2 separate regions of the Homo sapiens genome follow, and region 1 is linked to region 2. Evidence: promoter capture Hi-C in 16 types of primary human blood cells and fetal thymus (Javierre and others, 2016). All regions are on one chromosome and are shown on one strand. The core of a region is centred on a gene start or on the middle of the fragment in contact, and the rest is flanking DNA. Distances in the headings are between cores, read along the strand shown. Region 1 holds the start of RMDN1 (regulator of microtubule dynamics 1). Region 2 holds the start of RBM12B-AS1 (RBM12B antisense RNA 1).

Region 1 (4,645 bases), core at 108-2,607, 7.2 Mb before region 2:
TGAACCTACCTTCATTTCAGGAGGCAATGGCCACTTGGCATATGACAACTTTGCCAGTTTTTCCTTCCTTGGGTTCTAATATTGCCGCACTAGGGGATATAGGAGAGGAAAAGTAAGGCGCAGTTCCCCCAACCTCAGACTTATCAGGAAGAAGATATACATATGAGTGTGGAAGGCAGACGGGGTTTATGTAAGAGCACCTTCCTCACTTCCATATAGCTCTACAAGGCAAATTAACTTGAGTTTTATTTATTTTACCCTCTGGTTTAATTACATAATTTTTTAAGTTCTGGGATACAGGTGCAGAATGCGCAGGTTTGTTACATAGGTATACATGTCCCATGATGGAAATGTTTATTTTTTTAAGTGTAATTTTGCCAAATAATAAAAACAGAAGGAAATTGAGATTGGAGGGAGGTGTTTAAAGAGAGGTTATACAGTAGAAGATTTCATGCTGGGGAGGTTAGCGTGCAATATGAAGAATTTAGGGAGAAATGTAGTTCATTATTGGAGGGTATATTATGTGGTGCCTGAAGTCTGCACATTACCTCTTGACAATTTCTGTCCTTCAGATGGAAACTCTTAATTTCCCATAAAAGTCATATGCCTACATAATAAAGTTATTGATTTCCTTTGGAACTTTTTTCTTTTAATAGTTTACATGTAGTAGTACTTGAAATCTAGGATTATTAACTAATATGGGCATTGTAGTTAATGGTGGTTGATGGGTTCTAATTTTGAATGGAGTCAAGGGAAGGGAAAGTTATTTCTAGAAAGCTTGTTCCCCCTCACTGGACCAAACAACTCCTCCTTGTAGGAGACTCATTACTTTTGAAGTAATCCCACCACCTATCTGGTGGGAGAGCCATCCAAATGAGAAACTTAAAATAATCAGTTCTTGGTAGAGATTCATTATTTCTCCATTTTGTGCTTTAGGAGATTTTAGGTGTTGATTTTGTTTTATTTTAACTCATATCTTTAAAGGAATTCCCCAAAGAATGTTTATAGCTAACTTGGAATTTATAACCTCAGCTCTGGGATTTTTTTCTGAACGATTATTATCTAAAGGTGTGTTGTTGCCTTTAGGGTCATGCCATGCTTGTCTATGTCTGTTACCATGTCACTGTGGTCCTATGCCAAGTGCCCTTAGGGGGTCTCAATCTTTCCAACAGACCATGTTCGAGATAGTATGAGTCAATGTACAGTGTAGCCCACACTTGAGAGGATGAATATGTGTGCACTGTCCCTTTGCTCTGGATGGAAATAGGTTATTGTTGACTTATTTTTTCTGTGTTCCTACAGCCCCTTTTTCATATGTTGCTCAATTTCCCTTCCCCTTCTTGGTGCTTACACATCTCAGACCCTTTAGCCAAACCCTTGCTGATAACGGTATCTTGGTTCTCAGTTCTCACTGTTTCCTCTGGTCACGGAGACTTCAAATAAAAATGCACATAGCTATGGAGTGGGGTTTAGCTGGAAAAGGTGACCTTCTTCCAACTTCACGTCAACTTCTGGCTCCTCAAACAGTAGGTTGGCAGTTAGGCAGGGAAGTTGTTTTCCCATTTCTCACTGAGCAGATTGTGAATATTTCCATATGGATTTTCTATTATTAACATTACCCTGATTCTTTGTTTTAAAATAAAAATTCTGAATGTACGCACACAAAAAAACTCTAAATGTTCCATATATCTAATTTATGCTTACCTTTGGCTGTGGCATGAACCACAGCAGCCTGAGAGATAACCTGGTAAGTTTCAAAACCCAAATACGACAAAGCTGAGAGTAAAAGGCCTCTTTTGAAAGTTCCTGGGTTTCCCATTACCTATGGAAACAATTATGTTAAGAGTTACAAACTTTGAAAATTTGAAGGTACTGCTACCCCAAGCAAAAATTACATGAATTTTCTCCCACCCCCAAAGCAATCGATCATAATACTGGAAGCTTAAAAATTACTTCATCAAAATCTTTAGTAAAACTATCTCAAAGCGTATCTTATTGAGAAAAAGATATCCCCTGGAGTCGCCGCTCATCTAAAAATCACACTCCTGCTGGAAAGGAAGAGCTACAACTTATTTGCTACAACTTATTTGCAAATGCATGGATATTGCAAATTGTATGAAGTAAAATATGAGACACCAACACATAATAAAAATGAATCTTACAGACAAGATTATCATATATAGTAATTACTACATATAAAAATGTACATGGCTAACTTTTAAATTTTTTTGTAGAGACAGGGTCTCACTGTGTTGCCCAGGCTGGTTTCAAACCCCTGGACTCAAGCAATCCTTCCGCCTCGGCTTCCCAAAGTGCTGGGATTACAGGCTGAGCCAAGGGGCCAGGCCTAAAATGGGACTTCAAACTCATCATTGTTCCAATTTGAAAACTTACGGCTAACTAGTTTCATACTTAGAACTCCTCCCATCTCTCTGCCTATATTATCTATAACCTCCCCATTTGGTTATAAACTTCCAAGGAAGGGGAATATGCCAAATTTTAACCACCCCTCCCCACCATCAGTCCCATAATAATTCTGAAAGATTTTAACTGAGCAGTTAAAAATTTGAGTTTAAAATAATGAAACCCCTAGTTCATGTGAAATATATCATATGCATTAATGCCATTCCAATTCCCTGACAAGAATAAACAGAGGCCCACGAGCAGTCTAATAGAAATACCAGAACTGAGACTACAACATGCCGACAACCTTCATTGACGTTATGCAGATACAACGGGCAACTGAGAAATAAACATTTTTAAACAAAAACCTAAACAGTATGAAATCTCTGCTTCTGAGTCGTAGAACTTTTTAAATCACACACCACACTTTTCAAAGTCTGAAAGGGGCAGCCTCAAGCGCTGTTGTATCTGTCATCGCCTACAGGGAGAATAATTTCACAGCGGTCAAGGTTCTTTCCCGTCCTGTTTTACATTTCGCACAAGAAGGGCGGGTAGCAGGCAGCTTCTGGGGCGCGTGGGGGCAAACCCCACTCCTTCTCTGACAGCCCCAGTTAAGGATAGTGGAGGTTTGCAAAATGGAAGGGACCTGTCCGGGCGTTCCAGGCACAGTGGCCCCGAGTTCTTTCCTCGGTTCACCACATTCCTTAGGCAGCGCGGGGCCGCCACCACTTAAGTTAAGGGGGAGCCGGAACCCACTGAGTAGGAAGTGAGGAGCGGGAGCCAGGACCACGGGGGTACCTCGAAGCCGCGGAATCGACAGGGGCCGCAATGCCCGCGGCTGCCCGAAGTCCCCGCAGGGAGACGAGACCCCGGGGCGGCTCCACGTCGGAAAGGCAGAAGGCGCCACAGTCGAGCAGCCAGCGCCATGACCTGCAACTTGCGGGCTGACCCTGCACTACTTCAGGCAGCTACGGAGGCGGGCGGGGCTAAAGGAGATTCAATCCTTCCGGAAAGAACCGCGCCCGCCCGCCTCCTGCACAGCACCTCTTCCGCCTCCTGCCCAGCACCTCTTCCGCCCCCATGGTTTCCGGTGCACGGGCTTAGGGGGTGGGAAATACCCCGATTGGGTGGGACTTAATGGACTTTCCGCGCCTGCGTCCAGGACTGAGGCCGTGAGAGCGCTCTCTTCAGGCGCTCTGACTTGTTTCTGCTCCATCTCTCTAGGGGGTCTTTCATGGTTTGGGCACAAGGATTCGTCGCCAGAATAGAACTGAAAGCTCGGAAATAGACCCGAGAATACAAGTATGCCAGAAAAAAAATTGTCATTTTAATTATCTGCTGCCTTCAAAAGTAGATTGAATCTTGGTACTAGTGGGTCTTTTTTGGAAGTAAATAATTGGAAGAATTATGTTGCCCAACATGAAGAAGGGAAAGTCTCAGTCTCTTCGACTGAGCGACTCAAGGGGGTAGATTCAAGAGAGAGTCCAGAGCAAAGAAACAAAAAATGCAAAGCGTTTTGGGAAGAGGAACTAGCGGGAGGAGGCCTCTGGAAAGGATACTGATGCCCTTGAATGCTAGGGCATGTGTAGTAAAAAACAGAAACAAAAACAAACCCTGGTCTCCCCTAAAATTCTTCAATAAGATGTTTTACTTACTCGAGCAAAGTATTTTATTTTACTCGAGTAAAATAAAATTTCTTGCTCGAGTGGAATTCTTTTGTGGGAAAATGAAGAAATTTTGGATCCTACTTGAGGCCTGATCAGGGTGGGTGGAAACACAGACTGCAAAGGGAGTACCTACTATATGGGTTTAACGAAAAATCTTATGGGTAATAAGGGAGGCGAGTCATGGTTTTAAAAAATTAGGTTGCATTTCTATGGTACTTTTAATACTGTATAGGGAATTAATACATAGTCGTATTGATCTTCCGAACTACCTTGTGAAGTAAGTGGTATCCCAGGTTTACAAATGAAAAAACTGTAACTCAAAGAGATGTATTAACCTAACCAAGGATATGTTAGAAGACAGGAATCCATGTCTTTCTACTCTGAGTCCAGTGCTCCTTCTACTATATGATTGCTACCTCCACTAGTCCCATTAAATCAGCTGTATTTCTTTAGGATTATGTCTTTAAAGTCTATCTTTAAAAATATATAGATCTCCTTCCCAACTTCTGAAACCTAGCTGTTTTTTCCCAAAGACAGAATCACTTTTATTTTATGCATTTCTACTGGCAGCTACC
Region 2 (4,750 bases), core at 2,148-4,647:
TGTAAGTCTGCCAAATGCTGCTTCACAAGACCAAACTACTTTCAGACTCATTTAGAATCTTATCTTCTACTGAAACATGAGAGCTTTGTAGATTATTTTATCAACTGCAATGAATTTTACATATTTAGAAAAGTCATCTATGGTTAGTATATAATTTCTGCTCATGATAATAAATTGCCTACCACTGGCCAGACACAGAGAACAAAAGCCAGGGCCAGCATGATAGCTCATGCCTGTAATTCCAGGCTTTGCAAGGCCAAGGCAAGAGGATCGCTTGAGGCCAGGAGTTCAAGACCAGCCTTGGCAACAGAGCGAGAGCCCGTCTCTAAAAAGAAAAAATTAGCCGGGCATGGTGGCATGCACCTGTAGTCCCAGCTACTCAGGAGGCTGAGGCAGGAAGACTGCCTGAGCCCAATTTGAAATTTTCAGGATACAATGGGCTGCAACTGTGCCATTGCACTCCAGCCTGGAGGACAGAGTGAGGCCCTGTCTTTTTAAAAAAAAAAGAACAGAAGCCATGGATACCTAGATGTACTATTCTACTTCACATGTTTTTTGTTGAGCCTCAAAGCCTTAAACTCTGGATATCTTACCTTTTTTAAAATTTCTTGGAGACCTGTTAACTCTGTAAAAGCAACTTAACTGTGGAAAGAAAATGAAATATAATTAATCCTTGAACCCTGTAATTTATCTTAAACAACGCCAGAGTAGGATATCCATTTCAGAATTACCTATCAAAAGTGAAGCAGAATAAGGAACCACAATTACGGGTGTTACAAAATGGTCTTTTGTTCCAAGGGGAAATTAATCATCCTTCTGCAAAAAGGAGATACAATATCCAAATAGACATATAAAAATTATTTAAAAATTTGAAACTTGCCGAAAATTTAACAACTGCTCTTGATTGGAAGTAGCACGAAGAAAGGAGTGATGGAAATGTTACATATTTTGAATGCAGCAGTAGTTACATGGGTGTATAAATTTATCAAGGTTTACTGAATTCTATCCTTAGGGTCTATACATTTTGCTGTACACAAGTTTTACATCTACTTCAAAAAACTGTTCTACAAGTAAAATCTCAATACCCAAAGTTCAAAAAAAAAAAAAAAAAAAAAAGAACTTCAATCATTTTGCCACATGAAAATCCAAAAATCTAGTACATATTTATATCCAACTCTCGTGCTGTTCTCCTCCCTTTCAAAACATAAGACCAAATCAAATTAAGGCAACCATTCAAAATTACACAATAAATGAATAAAACAGCAAAGCCTGAAATTCAAAAATCAATTTTTAAAACAATAAATCCAAACCTATGGGCTATTGTTTGGATACAATTTAAAGGTCTATATAAACAGCTCATACATCCAAGCACAGAACCAAATTTCATGAAGCCAGTATAATTAAGGCAAATACTACAATATCCCTAAAGTTAAAAATCTCAATACCACTCCTATTGCAAAAATAGTAACTGTTACAATTCATCTCAAGCCAAACAGAAAATGCTATTTATCTTATTAATAATGCCAATAGCAGATTTCCATTTCAAACAACTATTCTGCACTCTACTAAGGAAACCCAAATGATGATGTAGAAAAGTAAAATTAAAAATTAACTTGGAATACTGGGATTACCCGTTTACTGAAAAATCTCAATGTAATTTTTTAAAGAAGTTTGCGTTTAATACTTTCAGGGATACCCAAACTATTTCATGAAGACTTGCCAAATAAATAATTATAATTTACACTCACTTTCTTTGGTGGGGGAGACAGGGTCTCTCTTGCTCTGCTACCCAGGCTGGAGTGCACTGGTGCGATCTTGGCTCACTACAGCCTCGACTTACCCAGGCTCAGGCAATGCTCCCACCTCAGCCTCCCCAGTAGCTGGGACTACAGGTGTGCACCACCACACCCGGCTAATTTTTGTATTTTTTGTAGAGCCAGGGTTTCACCATGTTGCCCAGGCTGGTAGGGAACTCATGGGCTCAAGCAATCAGCTCACCTCAGCCTCCCACAGTGCTAGGATTTACAGGTATGAGCCACTGCGCCTGGAGTAATTTACATGTCTTTAATGTACAAATAAATGTTGCGTTAATCCAGAATCCAGTACTTACACTTAAGTACCACTGTTCCCCAAAGTGGGGGTCTGAAGATACATTCACTGAGGTCTGTTTTCCTTTAAAAAAGGGTACGTAGATTAACCAGAAGCTAAACTAGCAAAGACATCAAATTACTTCACACATTCTACATCTGAAAAATATTAATCAGGTTTGCTATTAAAGTATTTGCACAGTAACAAAAAAAGAAAAAAAGCCTATTTTCTTCAACAAACCAATATCCATACTAACACTTCAACAAAAACTACAAATGGCTTCTGGAATACTTACTTTATCCATATTAAAGTCCCAAGACTCCCTCCTATGCAAATTGGCTTAGCTACTCTTTTTAAGATATTTTAGAAAGCACCATAAGCTATACATATTCTTGTCTCTCCTAAGCTTTTAAAAAAATTTTAACGGGATTTACCCTGGGAACATAAATTCATCTACAAGAGAAATTAGAGACGTTTCAAGGAATAATTATATCTCAAATTCAAAAAAACTCTAGTAATTTATCCTACCTCACTTAAAAACTATCTTTTAACCAAGTAGTTTCATGAGCACAAATCTCATGAATTCCAATTCAAGCAGACTATTTAGAAAGTTTATTCTCATTTGCCACAGTTAAACAAAACTAATGCTTAAACTTCTCTACCCTTGAGACAGTAGGGTAATGTACCATTTATGCCTCTACAATAACACACCTTGGAGACCAACTGTAAGAGACCAGCTCTCAAAATGGGCACTTCTGTGGTTCCAACATGCTATATTTCCTTAAGCAAATTCTCCAGAAATTCAACTCTTAACACACTAAATTACACAAAAGCAAAACACGAAAATTACCCTCAAGTAGTCTGCAATTAAAATTTTGCGTTTTTCTAGTTATGAATGCAAAAAGTATTTTTGTGCCTTTGTGTTCATTTGAAGACAATAATCTGTTAAAATTTCTATGAAAAGAAGAGTGGGTCCCTAAAAGATCACTTAAGTCAGTGAAATTTAAAGCGCATTTTAAATAACTGCTATTTTTATCCAACGATTCATCCCACTTAATCACCATTATAACTAAACAATACGTAACGTGCCTCTTCTAATCAAGACTTAAGGGGATACAGAGAGGGAAACGGGAGGGAGACAGAATTTAAATAAGTAATATCTCATCAGATCCATTTGATTTTTAACTAGCGAAGAAAAAGTCATTTTCCAGATATGGTGAGGGAGAGAATTTTTTTTAACTCTGCGACTACTTCGTAAAGCCCAAGGTCATGATGTAGCATATTCACACTCTAAACGTGAGTTTCCCCTGCAGAAAATAATCTACACCAACCCATAATTATTCTTTACGATGATCCACCTTTTATAATGTAGATGTTTAAAATAAAAACCAAAGGAATGACCAATGAGAGCCACAGTCCCTAGGAAGAACTGTAAATGAAGACGAATCCACATGGCACAGGATTTCTCCCAACATCCTCAAACGGGAATCATCCGAAGGCATCGATTCTACAGCCCAAAGCCTTTGTCCACAACTCCCAGGGGTCAGAGCTTCCTTCTTTCGCGCCAGGCCAAAGTTGCTACGTGGGATCCGATGTTGTCGCCAGACTTTCAGCCAAAATCAGCCTTCAAATTAACCTGGACCGCCCAACCTCCGTGCCTTTCCGTTACGCCGTCTCAAGGGCAAACATTCCACCCTAACTCGCCAGAGGGTGAACTGCCCCCAGATCTAACTGAAAACACTTGCCCTTCTCAAGCCTAACGAGCTGGGCCTGCAGCGCTTTTCTGCCACCACTGACTACGATGACATAGCAAAGAAAAAAATATACCTATGAAATCCTTCGAGATCTTCACTCTCAAGATCCCTGGGAAGCGCACATACACCACCACATGGAAGCTGACGGGAAAGGAAGAGTCGGTGTTTTAGCAAGAAAAGAGGGTGCCCTAACGGCAGGAGCTACGCTAGATACTGGCGCGGCCGCCGGTCCCGCCTTTCCCCGTTCTTCCGGCTTGGTCGCCCAGCCCTCCCCACCCCCGGCGCCCCGAGGGGAACTGCTTCGCACTTGGCAATAAACACACACCACTGCTGCCGAGTCGGACACACAAGGCCGGAGGCTGAGGGAACTCTTCGTCGCAGCAGCCTCCCCAAAACAGGTAGACCCTCAGTGAGCCCAGAAGAAGATGGCGCCCACTGCCCCTCCGGTCCGGACAAACGGACGTACGGTTTATCTGCCCATGCGCTCTGCAGGCGCAACCCACCACCAAGCTTGCGCACGCGCGCTGCCGCTCACCCGTTTCCCCTCGCTAGAGGAGGGGAGGCGGAGCCCCGGGGTTGGCTGAGCTTCTGCGCATGCCCAGATTCTGCCCAGCCCAGGGACCTCGACTTTCAACGGGAGAAATTCAGAGACACATTCAGGGCTCAGCCGGTAGATGTGCTGAGAATCTTCGGTAGACAACTGTCGAAGTACGGCGGACAAACTTTAAAGATTTCCAGAAGTTAAGGAAAGAGATGCAAAAGCAGAGAAAAGGCGACTTGTCTTTTCAGTGTTGCATTACTGTGTGGCGTAAAACATCTTCTAAAAAGCTCCTGTGGCCGGGCACGGTGGCTCACGTCTGTAATCCCAGCACTTTGGGAGGCCGAAGCGGGCGAATCACTTGAGGTCA

Evidence for each region. The method cuts DNA at HindIII sites, captures the fragments that hold promoters and counts their contacts. A CHiCAGO score of 5 or more calls a contact.
Region 1: a contact is called between a fragment that was not itself captured here and the fragment with the promoter of RBM12B-AS1 in region 2, in 1 of 17 cell types (non-activated CD4 T cells). The highest score is 6.0, in non-activated CD4 T cells.

The regions. Positions count from the first base shown.
Region 1 is chr8:86,505,291-86,509,935 of GRCh38, forward strand. It overlaps RMDN1 (regulator of microtubule dynamics 1), which reads right to left and starts at 3,396. Exons shown (of 10, transcript NM_016033.3): 1 at 3,202-3,396; 2 at 1,705-1,822. The coding sequence starts at 3,330. It also overlaps the pseudogene SLC2A3P4. RefSeq lists an enhancer at 3,141-3,310. The HindIII fragment of the contact is 1,164 bases long and covers 776-1,939 here.
Region 2 is chr8:93,736,714-93,741,463 of GRCh38, forward strand. It overlaps RBM12B-AS1 (RBM12B antisense RNA 1), which reads left to right and starts at 3,398. Exons shown (of 1, transcript NR_027259.1): 1 at 3,398-4,106. RBM12B (RNA binding motif protein 12B) reads right to left here and starts at 4,296. Exons shown (of 4, transcript NM_001377960.1): 1 at 4,168-4,296; 2 at 3,916-3,983; 3 at 594-642. It overlaps RBM12B-DT (RBM12B divergent transcript), which reads left to right and starts at 4,370. Exons shown (of 2, transcript NR_183450.1): 1 at 4,370-4,746. RefSeq lists an enhancer at 4,203-4,322. The HindIII fragment of the contact is 1,858 bases long and covers 2,493-4,350 here.